Linked DNA regions of Homo sapiens: region 1 is linked to region 2. Evidence: promoter capture Hi-C in human tissues and cell types (Jung and others, 2019). All regions are on one chromosome and are shown on one strand. The core of a region is centred on a gene start or on the middle of the fragment in contact, and the rest is flanking DNA. Distances in the headings are between cores, read along the strand shown.

What was found. Contacts are between HindIII fragments. The study calls those that stand out against the background at their distance.
Region 1: a fragment that was not itself captured here is called in contact with the fragment with the promoter of DDX43 in region 2 in 1 of the 25 tissues and cell types used here (aorta).

The regions. Positions count from the first base shown.
Region 1 is chr6:73,645,428-73,648,648 of GRCh38, reverse strand. The region is part of intron 1 of SLC17A5 (solute carrier family 17 member 5); the gene reads left to right. Among named protein-coding and RNA genes, the nearest start is that of SLC17A5, 7.0 kb to the left of the region's middle. The HindIII fragment of the contact is 4,203 bases long and covers 1-3,221 here.
Region 2 is chr6:73,393,134-73,396,730 of GRCh38, reverse strand. DDX43 (DEAD-box helicase 43) reads right to left here and starts at 1,903. Exons shown (of 17, transcript NM_018665.3): 1 at 1,576-1,903. The coding sequence starts at 1,825. LOC124901538 (small nucleolar RNA U13) reads left to right here and starts at 2,718; the gene lies at 2,718-2,818. It also overlaps a transcript of OOEP not described here. RefSeq lists an enhancer at 1,786-2,286. The HindIII fragment of the contact is 17,001 bases long and covers 1-3,597 here.

The DNA.
Region 1 (3,221 bases), core at 602-3,101, 250 kb before region 2:
GAGGAAGAAATCCTTTTTACTAAGTGCCTGCTATAATGTCTTGCAGTATTTCATTTAATCCCCATGCAGCCCAGTGGGTAGATGGTGGTCTCTACATATTATAGCTAAGAAACCTGAGAATGAAAACTAGTAAGTAATTTCTACAAAAGCACACAGCCAGTGAAAAATCAGAAACAGATTCATTCCCAGGTCCCACTCTAAATTAGCCTGTGTACTTTCAGTTACACCCACACACATTCCTAAGTTTAAAACACATTTTAGAAGCTGATGTTTGTTTTTGATGGGTGCCATGTTCCTTATGCAAGCATGATTTTGCTTTGAACTTGATGCTCAATGGATGTTCTCTCTCTTGGTCATGCAAGCATGCTTTTGTTGGATCAATTTCAAAGAATATTCACATTCCCAGGCATGTTTTTCTTTACTGCTATACCTTCTTGAAATAAAAATTTTCTGATTGAATATATTTGTAATCAGCAACCATTTTATTAGCTAGTAATTGTTTATTTTTAATATTTCTTAGAATCTCATAGTAATATACTTTGTGACACCTGAGTTGGCTTTTTATTTTCTTTTTTTTTTGAGACGAAGTCTCGCTCTTGTCCCCCAGGCTGGAGTGCGATGGCGTGATCTCGGCTCACTGCAACCTCCACCTCCCAGGTTCAAGCGAGTCTCCTGCCTCAACCTCCCGAGTAGCTGGGATTACAAGTGCCTGCCACCACGCCCGGCTAATTTTTGTATTTTTAGTAGAGACGGGGTTTCACCTTGTTGGCCAGGCTGGTCTACAAACTCCTGACCTCAGGTGATCCACCCGCTTCGTCCTCCCAAAGTGCTGGGATTACAGGCGTGAGCCACCGTGCCTGGCCGCTTTTTATTTTCTAATTACTGACTATGCATCCAAAAGTTAAAGTTGCCTGATCTATAACTTGTAGGTCAGATTTCCAAGTAATACCACGAGTAATTTGAAATCATTTTACTTACCTTTCTTTCATTTCTCAACATTCTAGCCCCTTGTAATTCACATGATAAGGTATATCATAGTCCCAATAAAGCATCACTTAGGGAAAACTAATAATGTACAGTAAAATAAGATAACTGCAAATAAGGATAGAATGAAGTAATAACATTACAAATTACAGTAGCATAAAATAGAGTTTTTTAGAGTAAGAGAATTACTAATAACTTCATCCCTCCCCTTCACTTACTCCCACATCTAACATTTGGGCAAGGCCTGTTAATTCTGCCTTTAAACATCTCAGATCTGCCCATTTTTCTTCACTGCTGCTTTCACTGTAGTTTAAGCCACCTTCATCTCTTAGCTGGAAAGCTACAGTAGTCCTTTAAGTGATCTCCCTGACTGTACATTCCTTACACCCTTCACACTTCTCCTTTCTATAGTCTCCATGCAGGGTCCAGATGAGCTCTTTAAACCATCAACCAGATAAGCTTTTTAAACCATAAATCACATCTCATCACTCCTTTGCTGAAATAGGTAATGATCTTTTTAAATGCTGCATTGACAAAACAGACATAGTACATAAATCTGGGTTTTTCTTGCTCCAAATTGCTCAAAGTAACACATTTTAATGCACACATTTAGCTAGATTTTTGAGTCCCCCATCCAGACTTCTAGGTAATATCACCTGACACAGAGCAATGATAAAGAAAACATGTTCTGCTGGGCACAGTGGCTCACGTCTATAATTCCAGTGCTTTGGGAGGCTGAGATGGGAGGATTGCTTGAGGCCAAAAGTTCAAGACCAGCCTGGGCAAAATAGTGAGACCCCGACTCTACAAGTAAAAATTTAAAAATTAGTCAGATATGCTGCCATATGCCTTTAGTCCCAGCTACTCAAGAGGCTGAGGTGAGAGGATCACTTGAGTCCAGGGGTTCGAGGTTACAGAAAGTTATGATCACCCACTGTACTCCAGCTTGGGCAACAGAGCAAGACCCTGTCTCTAAAAAAAAAAAGAAAGAAAAAAGAAAATGTGTTTTTTTACAAAACATGCCTCACAATATCCAAACCGTCATTAACTGGACAACTGCCCATTTGGTTGCAGCAGAAAGCAAATTCGCCTAGATTCTAGTAATAGAGACAATGTGAATAGAACTTTAGAAATTCAGTTCTTACAGATCTGGATCTAACTATGGTAGTGGTACCATAAATTTCATAGCTGTACCCCTGAAGAAAGGATTTAAGAATGCCAAATGAAAAGTTTCCTGTTAAAAGAAGTTAATCTTACACAGGGAAAAAAAAATAATAGCAGTTGTTAAACATAGGAGGGCATACAGAAAAGTGAGTTGGATCATAATATATTAATATAAACCTAAGTATAGTTGTGCATATTCATTAATGTTTCAGTCTAAATCAGTTCATCTGAGCCAGTATCAAGACTTTTGTATTCTGTAAAATATATTCTCTCCTTTGATGCTAGGTTAATGAAAACACCAGGATTCTTAAGTAGGGGAAAAACATACACACATTTATATGATGTTGATGTGTCATTACCAAATAAAAGCACACATATTTTCATTTAATTTTAATATGTCATTGCTTAATGAAATACATGTTTATATCTTTAAAGAGGTATTTATCAGCCACTCAGAGTTTACTAAACTTAAAGATGTTCAGACTCTGGATTAGCTAATTTCTCTTTGTTACTAAGAGGTTGATTATCCTTAGTCAGCATCCTGAATCCTATCCCTCTCCAATTCTGCAACTCAATAAAAGAAGAAAAAAGAGAAACTATGCATAAGCCCACAGTTAGAGTAATAAATAGGTCAAACTCCTCCTCTCACATGATCCTTTTATTGGTTCCTCCAACCTACTCTGCATTCTTTTTTTTTTTTTTTTTTTTTTTGAGACGGAGTCTCTGTCTCTGTCGCCCAGGCTGGAGTGCAGTGGCGCGATCTCCTCTCGCTGCAAGCTCCGCCTCCCGGGTTCACGCCATTCTCCTGCCTCAGCCTCCCGAGTAGCTGGGACTACAGGCGCCCGCGACCACGCCCGGCTAATTTTTTGTATTTTTAGTAGAGACGGGGTTTCACCGAGTTAGCCAGGATGGTCTCGATCTCCTGACCTCAGGTGATCCGCCCGCCTCGGCTTCCCAAAGTGCTGGGATTACAGGCGTGAGCCACTGTGCCCGGCATCCTTTTTTTTTAATCATGGTGGTACATTCACTGATTTCCCTTTTTACTGTGAGCCCTTTACGCTTGATAACTACTG
Region 2 (3,597 bases), core at 654-3,153:
ATGGGGAGCTGTTCAATGAGTATACAGTTTTAGTCATGCAAGTTCCAGAGATCTGGGATACAACATTGTGCTTATTATTAGTATTGTGATATACGTTTAAAAGAGGGTATTTCATTTTTTACAATAAAAAAGATGGATCCAGATCCAACATCAAGTGAGTGCTCTGTAGCACAGTGCCCTTTCATCTGCTAAGTATTAACTTAAGTGATTTTTATTGCAAACCTAGTGGCTTTCTTTCTTGGAGCATCATTCTTCAGATCTGAGCCCAAGCCTTCTGAAAGGCCAATGAGTCTCTGGGTAGTACAGCAATTAGTCTTACAATGCACTATTTTGTAGCAGCCTCCATCTATTCATTTTTCTCAGGTTTTAAAAAGGGTGAAATACACCTAATAGGTAAAATGTGGCAATTTATACTCGGGCTTAATGGCAATCAATGGGGTAATCATTCTAATCATTTTTAAATGCTTTTCAAAAAAATTCAGAAATGGGCCGGGCTTACGCCTGTAATCTCAGCACTTTGGGAGGCCGAGGTGGGTGGATCCACAGGAGTTCGAGACCATCCTGGGTAATATGGTGAAACCTCATCTTTACTAAAAACACAAAAATTAGCCAGGTGTGGTGGCGCACGTAATTTCAGCTACTAGGGAGGCTGAGGTGCTAGAATCGCTTGAGCCCGGGAGGTGGAAGTTGTAGTGAGCCGAGATCACGCCACACTGCACTCCAGCTGGGGCCACAGAGCTGCCTCAAAAAAAAAAAAAATCAAAAGAAAGAAAAAAATTAAAAATTCAGAATTGAATGTTAACACTCAAGATGTAGTAAGAAAAGTTTTTAACTTTTTAAAAATTAAGGAAACTAAAAGCAAGATACAACTGCTCTAGGCAGCCCTACAATGACCTTATAGCTTTTCTTTGATTTCTGGCTCTAAATGGTACTCATAGAAAGACTGATTAAGTTTTGTTTTTCATTCTGGGGTTAGCTGTCTGTTAAAAGGCCTGTTCTAAGCATCCCTCTTCAGCCCTAAGATTTCATAAGTCTTCTAGGAGTTGCTCTCCCAAATACATTGTCTGTATAAACACCAAAAGGTGGATTAAATTACTTTTTTTTTTTTTTTTTAATTGAGACGGAGTCTTGCTCTGTCACCTAGGCTGGAGTGCAGTGGCGCGATCTCAGCTCACTGCCAACTTCTGCCGCCGGGTTCAAGCCATTCTCCTGCCTCAGCCTCCGGAGTATCTGGGATTACAGGCGCGCGCCACCACGCCCAGCTATTTTTTTTAATATATATATTTTTAGTAGAGACAGGGTTTTGCCATGTTGGCCAAGCTGGTCTCGAATTCCTGACCTGGGGTGATCCGCCCGCCTCGGCCTCCCAAAATACTGGGATTACAGGCGTGAGCCAACGCGCCCGGCCAGATTAAATTATACTCTATCCCCAGGTTTTACAAATAGCTCTGGGAGAGACCTGAACCTCACTAGGTGGCAGCTGATTGGAGGTGAGGCAGTGGGGAGGAAATGCCTTCGCCCAGGCTCCGCCCCTGGCCCCACCTATCCTGCCCTGCCAGCCACTCCCATTCTCACCGATTACCGCGCCAACAAAGTGGCTCTTCAAAGCAAAACACAGCGGCAGTTCCTCGTGACCAGCGGCCACGGCCTCCGGGGGCCTAGAGGTGCCTCTCCAGCGACCACCTCTGCCGACACTATATCCCTCAGGACCTGTTCGATTCAACTCCTCCGCCGGCCTCCTCTCTGGCGCTCGGGACACTGTCGAGCTTCGCCGACTAGCAACGACCCACGTAGAGGCCTTGGGAGCTCCTCCGTGGTGGGACATTGTTCCAAGAAGGGGCGCGTCCGACGTCGTTGCCGTCCAGCTCTGCACCACCTGACCGTGACGTCGTAAGAGTAGCGTGCCAGGGAAGCCACGCAGCCGCTACTTAAGGAGCCCGCACGAGGCTAGCCCCCCCGCCCACGCTCTCTATCCCGCCCACTTCGCACTGATTTCACGCAGCCATTGGCCAGTGAGCGTTGTGGGCGGGACTTTCCCAGTTTTAGCCAATCGGTTTTCTGAACCGTGGGAGTGTGCCTTGAAGTAGTCGATGTGCCCCGCCCCCCACCCCCCCACTGTGTATTCCTTTCCAGGCGTGGGACTTTTTCCAAACGCCCAATTTGCTCCCTCCCCTACTGGACACACACCTCGGGTTCCTGGCATCTCAGTGCCTTGGAAACTTTTTTTTTTCTTTTTAAATAGAGACGGGGTGTCGCCGTGTTGCCCAGGCAGGTCTTGAACTCTTGGCTTCTGGCTTCAAGTGATCTTCCAGCCTCGGCCTCCCAAAGTGCTGGGATTACAGTCAGCCACTGCACCGGAAATGTTTTCAACCGTGACCCATAAAGGTAAGTCACTGTTACAAGGTGACCCAATCCACACATAAAAAACTTGAAACAACAGATTGACAAAACAGCATTTATCCTCGCTATGTAAGCTGCATTTTGATACATTTACGCTTATTTTAGTTTTTGAAATGGTTGTAATCCACAAAATTAAAAAAAAAAAATTTAATAGAGATGGGAGTTCCCAGTATGTTGCCCAAGGCTGGTCTTGAACTCCTGGACTCAAGTGATCCTCCCACCTCCACCTCCCATAGTGCTGGGGTTACAGGCCTGAGCCACTGCACTCGGCTCACAAAATGTATTTAATGGCCCACAGCTTAAAGATCACTGACTTGATCCTTTTGTAAGTCATAAGTGTGATTGGGTTTTCATGCTCTTGTGTCAAATGTGCCTCCCTCAAACCTTGTTACGAAGTGGGCACACTACCCACCTGATGTGAAAAATGAAGAGAAAAAGATCACTGGCTTGAGAGACATTCATTGCTCTACACAGTCTTCTGGATGTTTGCTATGTTTTTTTTGTTTGTTTTCTTTTGTTTTGTTTTTGACCTCTGTCGCCTAGGCTGGAGTGCAGTGGTGCGATCACTCACTGCAGATTCGACCTGTTGGACTCAAGTGATACTCCCACCACAGCCTCCCGAATAGTTGGGACTACAGGTGTGCACCACCATGCCAGGCTAATTATTTTGTAAAGACAAGACCTCCCTATGTTGCCCGGGCTGGTATCCAACTCCTCCTGCCTTGGCCTCACACAGTTGAGGGATTACAGGTATGAGCCACAGTGCCTGGCCTGCCATAATTTTAGAGCTAAGGAAATAAATTGAATAGATTCCTGAAGCATTACCGTCACTGCAGCCTGGCTCTGTGGCTGGACATACTACTACTCCAGGGCTTCAAGCCAGCTGCAAGTGCACTCCTTTGATTAGGATCTTTGAATTATCTGAACAAATTTCAGTTTAGGCCAGCAGGGATAACTCATACCTGTAATCTCAACACTTTAGGAGGCCTAGGCGGAGGATCTCTTGAGCCCCAAGGTTCAACATCAGTCTGGGTAACATAGTGAGACCCTGCCGGGTGTGGTGGTACAGGCTGTAGTCCCAGCTACTCAGGAGGCTGAGGTGGGAGGATCACTGAGCCAGGGAGGTTGAGGCTACAGTGAGCCGAAGTGCCGAAATGGTGTCACTGCACTCCAGTCTGGGCAACAGAGCAGAGACCC